Regions from separate parts of the Homo sapiens genome. Here region 1 is linked to region 2. Evidence: promoter capture Hi-C in human tissues and cell types (Jung and others, 2019). All regions are on one chromosome and are shown on one strand. Each heading gives the region's core, a stretch centred on a gene start or on the middle of the fragment in contact. The rest is flanking DNA. Distances are from core to core; before and after follow the strand shown. Region 1 has its middle 4.6 kb from the start of RPS6KC1. Region 2 holds the start of VASH2 (vasohibin 2).

Region 1 (4,856 bases), core at 447-2,946, 95 kb after region 2:
GTTTCACTGAATTCATTGGAAAAAGCTTCTAATCCCAGGCTTTTTGTTTGTTGACATTTTTTTGATACAGACTTAATGTCTTTACTGGTCTATTCTGACATTTTTGTCTTCTTGAGTCGGTTTTGGCTTTGTCTTTCGTTCCTTTAGACGTGGTTTTCTTTAGCTTTTTGGATGTATTTAAAGTAGCCAATTTAAAATTTATGTCTAGTAAGACCAACATCTGAGCTTCCTCATGGACATAGTTTTTAATTGATTGCTTTTTTATCTGTGTATGGGTCACACTTTTTGTTTTTTATAATGCTTCATAAATTTTTGTTGAAAAATTAATTATTTTAAATATTCTAATATGACAACTCTGAAAGTCAGATTATCTCTCCTTCCTAGAGTTCATTGTTAGTGCTTATTGTAGTAGTTGTTTATTTAGTTTTCTGAACTAATTCTGTTAAATCTGTTATTTGTTGTGTGTGACCACTAAAGTCTCTGTTCCGTTAGCTTATTAATTAGGCAGAGATTGGACAGCAAATGATTGGACAGTGATTTCCTTAGGTGCTGGAACCAAAAAAACAGCTCCCAGTCTTTGCAGAGAGGCCCTGTTTTTATTTTATTTTATTTCTATTTTTTACGGTGACAGGGTCTCACTATATTGCCCAGGCTAGTCTCAGACTCCTGGGCTCAAGGGATCCACCTACCTTAGCCTCCAAAGTGCTGGGATTATAGGCACGAGCCACCGCGCCTGGCCTTATTTTATTTTTATTTACTTATTTATTTTGAGACACCGTCTTGCTATATCATCCAGGTTGGCATGCAGTGGCATGATCTTAACTTACCACAACCTGTGCCTCCCAGGCTCCAGCAATTCTCTTGTTTCAGCCTCCTGAGTAGCTGGGACTACAGGTGTACGCCACTATGTTGGGGACCAGCCTCAACACCACCTGTAGGGTACTCGAAGTCCGGTGGTGACAAAGGAATGAGAAGAGACAGCTTAAGAGTTTATAAAGGTGGGAGCCAGGGGGCCAGTTGCAAAATGGAGGCTGCAAAAGGTTTAGAGCTCTGGTCTCTATACTATTTATTGAGTACAATTACTTAGATTTAAGAAGCAGATTTTTAGGGCGAAACAGTGAAAGGGTTGCAGTGCGTCATAGGCGTAATTTATAGTAATAGCGGTTTAAATGAATCTCCTTTGTGCTCAAACAGCGTATCTTTAACTATCAGAGAGCAGCTAGTGGGAGCGGCTTAACTAGGAGCCTGCATGTCTGTCTACATTTCAGTGTTTTAAAGGAGTGTCTTTCTCCCTGAACACAGTGTTTACAGATAAGAGAGCGGGTCTAGTTCTGAGCATGGGAACATGATGGCAATTAGGAGGCTTTCCTCCTCAGAGGCCTCTTGCGGCTTTCCACAACTTAATGTCCCATATTTTTATGGCCAGTTCATACAGGCACCCCACAAGCCCTTTTCCTGAATGAGAAGAGACAGGTTGAGAGTTTGTAAAGGTGGGAGCCAGGGGGCCAGTTGCAAAATGGAGGCTGCAAACAGTTCAGAGCTCTGGTCTCCACACTATTTATTGAGTACAATCACTTAGATCTAAGAAGCACATGTTCAAGGCGAAACAGTGAAAGGGTTGCAGTGCGTCATAGGCGTAATTTATAGTAATAGCGGTTTAAATGAATCTCCTTTATGCTCAAACAGCATATCTTTAACTTATCGGAGAGTAGCTAGTGGGAGCGGCTTAACTAGGAGCCTGCATGTCTGTCTACATTTCAGTGTTTTAAAGGAGTGTCTTTCTCCCTGAACACAGTGTTTACAGATAAGACAGCTGGTCTCTCTCTGAGCATGGGAACTTGATGGCAATTAGGAGGTTTTCCTCCTCAGAGGCCTTTTGTGGCTTTCCACAACCTATTGTCCATATTTTTATGGTCAGTTTATACAGGCACTCCACAAGCCCTTTTCCCAACACCACTATGCCCTGCTATTTTTTTTTTTTTTTTTTTTTTTTTTTTTTGCATTTTCTTGTAGAGATGGGGCCTCACTATGTTTCCCAGGCTGGTCTTGAACTCCTGGGCTCAAGTGATCCACCTGCCTCAGCCTCTCAAAGTGCTGGGATTATAGGTGTAAGCCACTGCACCCTGCAGAGGCCCTGTTTTTATGCAGGTGTACATCTTCAACACTCAGCCAGGCAGTTTACAACCCTGCCTTAGTCTTCTCATCTTGCTTGTACAGAGCTTCAAGTTTGGCTAGATGTGAAAGCTTAAAGCCTTCTCAAGTCTTTCCTGAGCATCTGCGTAGCTCTGGTCATGTGCATGGTCTTCTAGATTCTCAAGAATATATTGGAACTTTTCAAGGCCCTTATTCTTCCAAAGCTTCTCATTCTCCAGCCTTTTCTCTCAAGCTTCTTGGGCAGTCGATTGTTTGCTCAGCTGTTATCCATTACTTCAGGGAGCAAAGACAAACACATTTACCTATAAATATTTGTGGAAAAATGTCCCCTGGTTAATGGCTTTAGCGTTGGGACAAGGTGAAGATAAGCCTTTTGAGTTGGTCTTCTGAAAGCCACCAGACAAATAAGACCAGATATTTATTTATTTATAGTAATAATTACTATTCTATAAAAATGAGGTCTCTTCTCCCTCAGAACTAGTTGTAGGAATGTTGGCTGTTATTTTCAAGGATATCCCTGAGTTGAGGAGCAGGGGATGGGCCTAGGGTTAGTTAAAATGCCAGAAAGTTTGCTGTTCTTAGAGATTCAGCCTATTTTCTTTCTTTCTTTTTTTTTTCTTTTTTGAGACAGAGTCTCGCTCTGTCGCCCAGGCTGGAGTGCAGTGGCGTGATCTCAATTCACTGCAACCTCCGCCTCCCAGGTTCAAGCAATTCTCCTGCCTCAGTCTCCCGAATAGCTGGGACTACAAGTGCCCACCACCACACCCGGCTAATTTTTTGACTATTTAGTAGAGACGAGGTTTTACCATGTTGGCCAGGCTGGTCTCAAACTCCTGACCTCGTGATCCGCCCGCCTCCGCCTCCCCAAGTGTTGGGATTACAGGTATGAGCCACCACGCCCAGCTGAGATTCAGCCTATTTTCTTAAATAAGTGTTCCTGGGTTGCTGTAAGCTTTTGGTTAGTTTCCAGAGTTCTGAAAGAGTTAATACTGAGAGTTTTTGTTAGTTTTTTCATAGTTTATGTGGAGCAGTGAACTTTTGGAGTTCCCCCTAACAAAGAATCAGTTTTTGGTTTCATTGGTTTTTCTTTATTGCTTTTCTCTTTTTCTATTTCATTGTTTTTCTCTTTTTAAAAAAATTTCATTGAGTTATTACTCTTTTCTTTATGTTTTATTCCTTATTCTTGCTCTAGGGTTCAATATTTTTTTTTCTAGCTTCTTAAAGTAGAAGCTTAGTTCATGACCCTTCTTCTTGTCTACTATAAGCCATCAAGGTTATACATTTCCCTCTAAGCACTGCATTAGCTGTGTCCCACACATTATGATATGCTTCCATTTTCATTCAATTCCAAATATGTTTAAAAGTTTTTGTCACTTATTTTTGATCCAGGCATCTTTAAGAATTGTATTTACTTTCCAAATATTCATGAATTTTATGGGTAACTTTCTATTATTAACTTCTAGTTTAATTCCCTGAGGTCACAGAGCAAATCCAATTTATATTGGTTTTAAAAATTTTGTTAACATTTATTTATTTATTTATTGAGACGGAGTTTCGCTCTTGTTGCCCAGGCTGGAGTGCAATGGTGCGATCTCAGCCCACTGCAACCTCCGCCTCCCGGGTTCAAGTGATTCTCCTGCCTCAGCCTCCTGAGTAGCTGGGATTACAGGCATGTGCCACCATGCCTGGCTAATTTTGTATTTTTAGTAGAGACAGGGTTTTTCTACATTGGTCAGACTGGTCTCCAACTCCCAACCTCAGGCTATCTGCCCACCTTGGCCTCCCAAAGTGCTGAGATTACAGGCATAAGCCACTGCGCCCAGCCTGTTAACATTTATTTTATAGCCCAGGATATGGCCTGACTTGTTGAATGTTTTCTGTACACTTGAAACAAACATTTTCTGCTACTATTGAGTGGCGTGTTCTATAAATGTCTATCAGGTAGAGTTGGTTGATAGAGCTTTTCAGGTTTTCTGTATCCTTATTCATTTATTTGTTTACATGTTTTGTCAATTACCGAGAGAGGAGCGTTGAAATCTTTTTTGTTTTTTTTGAGACAGATTCTTGCTCTATTGCCCACGCTAGAGTGCAGTTGCATGATCTTGGCTCACTGCAACCTCCACCTCCCTGGTTCAAGTGATTCTTGTGCTTCAGCCTCCCAAGTGACTGGGGTTACAGGAATGTGCCACCACGCCGGCTAATTTTTGTATTTTTAGTAGAGATGAGGTTTTGCCATGTTGGCCAGGCTGGTCTTGAACTCCTGGCCTCAAGTGATCTACCCACTTCAGCCTTCTAAAGTGCTAGGATTACAGGCATGTGCCACCATGCCAGGCCTGAGTGTTGAAATTTTAACTATAATTGTGGATTTGTCTATTTCTTCTTTTAGTTCTAATCGTTTTTGCTTTTTACATTTTTAGTTTTGTTATTAGGTATATACACATTTAGAATTGCTCTGTCTTCTTTATGAATTGAATTCTTTAAGTTTTGTCCTTCTTTATTCCTGATCATATTTCTTTGTCTTAAGTATTTCTAGTAGTGTTTTCGTGGCACATGTTTTTCCACTTTTTAAATTTTTAATCAATAATATCTGGTAAATCAAAGAAACTCAGAGAACATGGAGAGGAAGTTGCTAAGGATGATATCAAATAGCTAACTAATGTAATTAAATGGAGAGTAAAACCAGTCATGGAGATAGAAATAGG
Region 2 (5,196 bases), core at 630-3,129:
TATGTTTGTTGACTGTATATCCTCTTTTGAAAATTGTCTATTCATGTCCTTTGCCAATTTTTTGATGGGATTGGTTTTATCTGGCTGATCTGTTTGGGTTCCTTGTAGATTCTGGATACTGGTCCTTTGTCAGATGCACAGTTTGTGAATATTTGCTCGCACTCTGTGGATTGTCGGTTTACTCCGCTGATTATTTCTTTTGCTGTGCAGACCCTTTTTAGTTTAATTAGGTCTCATTTATTTATTTTCATTTTTGTTACATTTGCTTTTGAGGTCTTAGTCATGATTTCTTTGCCTGAGCTAATGTCTAGAAGTGTTTTTCTCATGTTATCTTCTAGAATTTTTATGGTTTCAGGTCTTAGACTTAAGTCTTTGATCCATCTGGAGTTGATTTTTGTGTAAGGTGAGAGACGAGGATCCAGTTTCATTCTACATGTCCACTTCAGCCTTTTGAGTAGCTGGGACTACAGGTGTGTGCCACCACATCTGGCTAATTTCAAAATATTTATTTAGTAGAGACAAGGTCTCGCTATGTTGGTCCAGTCTCTAATTCCTGGCCTCAAGTAATCCTTCCTCCTCTTTCTCCCAAAGTGCTGGGTTTAAAGGTGTGAGGCACCACGTCTGCCCTATTCTCATTATTGAATCTATAAAGTTCTTGGCATGGGCTCTGTCTCAGGGAGCAGTGCAGGGCTAAGTCCAGAATCCAGGTCTCCTCACCCAAGCCCTGGCTCTCAACTACCCCTCAGGGGTCTCTGCCCTCCTGTGGAAGAGAAGTTCCAGTTCCATGACAGGCAACTTGTCAGGATAAGCATCCAGAAACTGACCCGCCATCAGTGGCACTTTGACAACTGTCTTCTTAATTCAAGGTTCACTTAGCATAGGTCTCATAACTGCTTTGCTCAGAGCTGGCCTGCTGGCCTGCAGTTTAAAGAGAAAGGATGCTATGGCCAGGATCCTCAGTGTCACAAGAGAGGAAGTCAGGGAATCACAGAACCTTACAGCCAGAACAGACCCTGGAGAGCGGGAGGTCTGCTCTCCTTTCAGAAAGAGAAGCTAAGGCCCAGAGCAGGGAAGTGGCTTGTCCAGGGTCACACAGCTGAGCAAAGTGACAAACCTGGACCAGGAGCCAGCCTTCAGGTCAGCAGTCTGGTGCTCTTCCCACCTCAACCTGCTCTCCTCTTTCTTAAAGAAAAAGAAAGAGAAGGTGTTTCAGTAGTGAGTGTGGGATAGCCACCCACTTCACCATGGTTTGGAAGCATCTCTCCATCCCTCCTCTCACTCAACAGCTGTGGCAGAACAGTCAGGGCCTGCCTGACCTCTTGAGTTTTATTGTCTCCTCTCAACTTGGGCTTAAAGGGACTTTATTAACCATGACTAATACCAGAGGATCCAAAGCTGCACCCACTTGTTAATTTTGAGGAATTTTTAAATGCGGGATTTAAAAAAGATTTAATTTCACGCATAGGTATGAACAGCCCCTCATCATCCCAGGTAGAGGATGAACAACTCATCATCCCGGGTAGAGGCAGGTAAGTGTGTCCAGCGTCCCTCAGGGAATGCTCTTCTGATGCCAAACCCTCTGCTTCCGCGGGGTCACTTCTCGGGTGGTTTTGTTTCTCCTCTGCTTCCACAGTTGCAAACCCTCGAAGTGCCACGACCCCTGGGGAAACTCGATCTTAAGTCCCATGGCCAAACGCTCCAGCCCGCGGGGCTCTCAGGACACCACAGCGATCGGATTTCGCGTGGCCGCCAGGCTCCCCCTACTCCTGTCCCCTCCCGCCAGAGAACCCCTGGAGCCAATCAGAGCGTCGCGGAGCCCGGGGTTGTAGAGTCCCGAGCCCGGGACCCGCCCCTCTTTGTTGCGGTGGCCAATAGACGCATTCGGAACATCGGCGGCTGCCCGGGTGACTTGGTTATATGTCACAGAATAACATTCGAGAATGGGACATGGAATGAGGCGACGGCCCCAGCAAGCCCCAGCAGCCCCAGCCCCAGCCCCAGGCCCAGCAGCAGCAGCAGCAGCCCCTGCTCTCCCGCCGCCCGGAGAGGCTCTGCAGCCATGAAGCCAACCGTCCCGAGGTAGGATCTTGGAGCTGCCGCGCGCCCTTCCTGCGCGCCGCCCGCCTGCAGCCAGTCCCTCCCGGTGATAGGCGCTGGAACTCGGGGAAAAGGGGGCGGATGGAGCTCTTTCCACTAGATCCCCGCCGGGGTCCGGGAGGGCTTCCTGGAAGAAAGCGGGCCGCCTTGCAAGCCAAGGCTGCTGCAGCGCCCTCGCGCCAGCTCTGGGCGCTCACATGCCAGCACGTTCGTGGCTCCCCTCCTCTCTTGGCCACATCTGAGGACCCAGGAATGTGTGGAGCCTTGCGGGAACCTCCTGTTCCTTCATGCTACACAAGCTGTCTTTCTTCTCCCCACATCTTGCGCTCCGCATCCCCCAAGCTCCTTGTGCCCCTCCATCCCCAACCCCCCGGGTTTAGGTGTGTGTGAAGCTTCGTGGCACATTTTGAGCTGCCTTTCTAGGTAATCGCAGGGCTGGAAGCCCGTCATCGATTCTCAGGGAGGCTGTCAGCGTGCAGGGGGGAGCGGGGAGTGTCGTGGAGACACTCCGGGACCCCTCACTCGGTTCCGCTGTGCGTCCACTTAGCTGTGGTGTCAGCTGTGTCTCCGCTGATTTCAGGCACCGCCGGTAAGCAGGGAGCCTCCGCGGAGCTCCCGCCGCCGCTCCCCCTTGGTGAGTCCTGCCGCAGCGAGAGGCATGGAGAAGGCCGCCCCCGCGGGGCGCTGATCCCCTCGCCGCGCCCGCGCGCACACGCCCCCCGCCGCCGCCGCCGCTGCCGCCGCCGCGCGCCCCCAGTACCTCGCTCCCCGCCCAGGCCCCACCATGACCGGCTCCGCGGCCGACACTCACCGCTGCCCCCACCCCAAAGGCGCCAAAGGCACCCGGTCCCGGAGCAGCCACGCGCGGCCCGTGAGCCTCGCCACCAGCGGGGGCTCAGAGGAGGAGGACAAAGACGGCGGGGTGCTGTTCCACGTCAACAAGAGCGGCTTCCCCATCGACAGCCACACCTGGGAGCGCATGTGGATGCACGTGGCCAAGGTGCACCCTAAGGGGGGAGAAATGGTGGGCGCCATCAGGAACGCCGCCTTCTTGGCAAAGGTCAGTGGCTTCCAGGGCGGAGTTGGGGGGCTGGGGGTAGGTAGGCAGCGATGGGACCGTTTCAGCCTATACATAGCAAACACAGGCAATCTCCATTTTCCTAGTCCTGCTACAAACTCCCTTCCTCTCCCCATTCCTTCCTGCCAGCCCTTTTCTAATTGAGATATTTAGATTGGAAGCCTAAGAAATGGGGAAGGGAGAGGTAGCGGGCTTGCTATCCTGGGACTGTGTAATTGGATTGTGCCAAGGTGTCTTTGAAGCTCCAGCCAAACTCTATTATTTACTCACCCCCACATACATCCTCCTTCAGCAAAAGCTAGAGCCACCAGGTACCAGCGATGCCAAAGAATGCACAGACCCCAGGGATCCCACCCTGCTTGTTCTCTTTGGAGTGTCTTGCTCCTCCTCTGCTCCCCTCTTCCCCCAGCAAATGATTTATTAAGCTGTGAATGAATTTGAAATCAACCAGTCAGACTTCTCAGTGTGAATAATTTCCAGACTTTTTGCCAGTTTTTTTTCTTTTCTTTCTGGTTTTTTTGTGTGTGTGTGTGTGACAGTGACTTTCACCTCTGAAACTTGCAAAACGGTGAACTCTCTCTCTCTCTTCCCAGCTTATTTGTGCTCCAAGAAAAAAGAAAGACTTTTGGCTGAGACTTAAAAGGGACTTTCCAGTACACATGATGAATTAGTCTCACTGGATAGAAAAAGAGGATGAGGAGTGAAACTCTCTTTTTGCCTTGGAGAGAAGCCAGTGAGCCATTTGGGTTTGGTGGCTAAGGATATCTTTACCGAGGGAGGGAGATGTACCCTGGTGGGAGTAGATACGTTATATGAAACATCAAAATGCAAACTGGGGAGAAATGCTGCCGAGCCTCGGGGTTATAGCGTGGCGGATGGTTTCCCCTGGACCCTGGGGACGCTGGTACGGCTGAGAAGATTCCTGGGCAGGTCTAGGAATGCCAGACTTGAGACCCGGAAGGCCATCTGGTTGATTCCCCAGCCTGGTGACAGCTGAGCATCTGAGCCTGCAGGCCAGAAAGCTGTGTGTGTCCTTGGAGAAGTGACAGAGCCTCTAAACTTCCTGCTGCAGTCAGTTACAGTGTTCTATTACTCTGCTGGTCAAGGAGATCTTCATTGTGCCCAACTAGAATCTTGCCTGCTTTAGTGTCAACCATAATTACCCTTGCTGAGTTCTTGAATATGAGAACAACCTTTGTTCCTGGTTTGCAGTTCTGACTTGAGAATTTTTCCTCCAGTGAGGAGCCGAGAGCCCTTAAACTTGGAAGAAAAGTGACCACAAGGAAAAAAACGCCTGTTCCTACTGTCCCATGCTGCCTTTCTTAGTAGCACCCGTACCAACCCTGCCTCTAATTGTGCTTTTATCCTTCCTCCAACCATGTATGCGGGTGCGCGGGGGGGGGTGCATTCTCTATGTGGGAATCATGGAATTTTGCTGTTTGTAGAGACCAGTCTCCCACCTCTCAACAGAATCCCCTCCTCTTTCTGAAGACCTCTTGGGAATGGGGAGCTTGCTGCTTCCCAGGGCAGCTGATCTTAGGCCTGGCCAGAGTCGATTGTTAGGAAGCTCTTAGACCAACCATAAATCCTCCTCGCAGCACCCTCCCACCCGCAAATCACATTTCATCACTGATTGTTGTGTTCCTCTTGCCTTTTGAATCAGGGCAGAGCATTGTCAACTTCCTTTGCTACTCACAGCACCCTTGAATGTTATGAGAGAGTGCTCTTAGGATGGAAGGGACTTGGAGTAAAAATCAAGGAACTGAATCCTAGTCTTGGTTGTATGACATCTAGCCTTGTGCCTCACTTAAGTGAGGTCATTCACTTAAAATCTCTGTCCTTAGTTTTCTCATCTATAAAATGGGAATAGACCAGACTTTGTAAGTTCTTTCCAGCTCTAAAATCTCATGATGTTATGACCCGTGAGTCTCCAGGTCACTAATGCTGATCTGTGTGATGCTAGAGGTCTGCTAGACTATGAGCCCTCAGGACTGTGACTTTTTCTATCATTCTGCTTCTGC

Evidence for each region. Contacts are between HindIII fragments. The study calls those that stand out against the background at their distance.
Region 1: a contact is called between a fragment that was not itself captured here and the fragment with the promoter of VASH2 in region 2, in 2 of the 25 tissues and cell types used here (pancreas and spleen).

Annotation. Positions count from the first base shown.
Region 1 is chr1:213,044,208-213,049,063 of GRCh38, forward strand. No RefSeq gene overlaps it. Among named protein-coding and RNA genes, the nearest start is that of RPS6KC1, 4.6 kb to the right of the region's middle. RefSeq lists a cis regulatory region at 1,000-1,958. The HindIII fragment of the contact is 7,014 bases long and covers 1-4,856 here.
Region 2 is chr1:212,948,662-212,953,857 of GRCh38, forward strand. It overlaps VASH2 (vasohibin 2), which reads left to right and starts at 1,880. Exons shown (of 8, transcript NM_001301056.2): 1 at 1,880-2,079; 2 at 2,678-3,157. The coding sequence starts at 2,882. RefSeq lists enhancers at 1,866-2,015, 2,536-2,585. The HindIII fragment of the contact is 12,745 bases long and covers 1-4,492 here.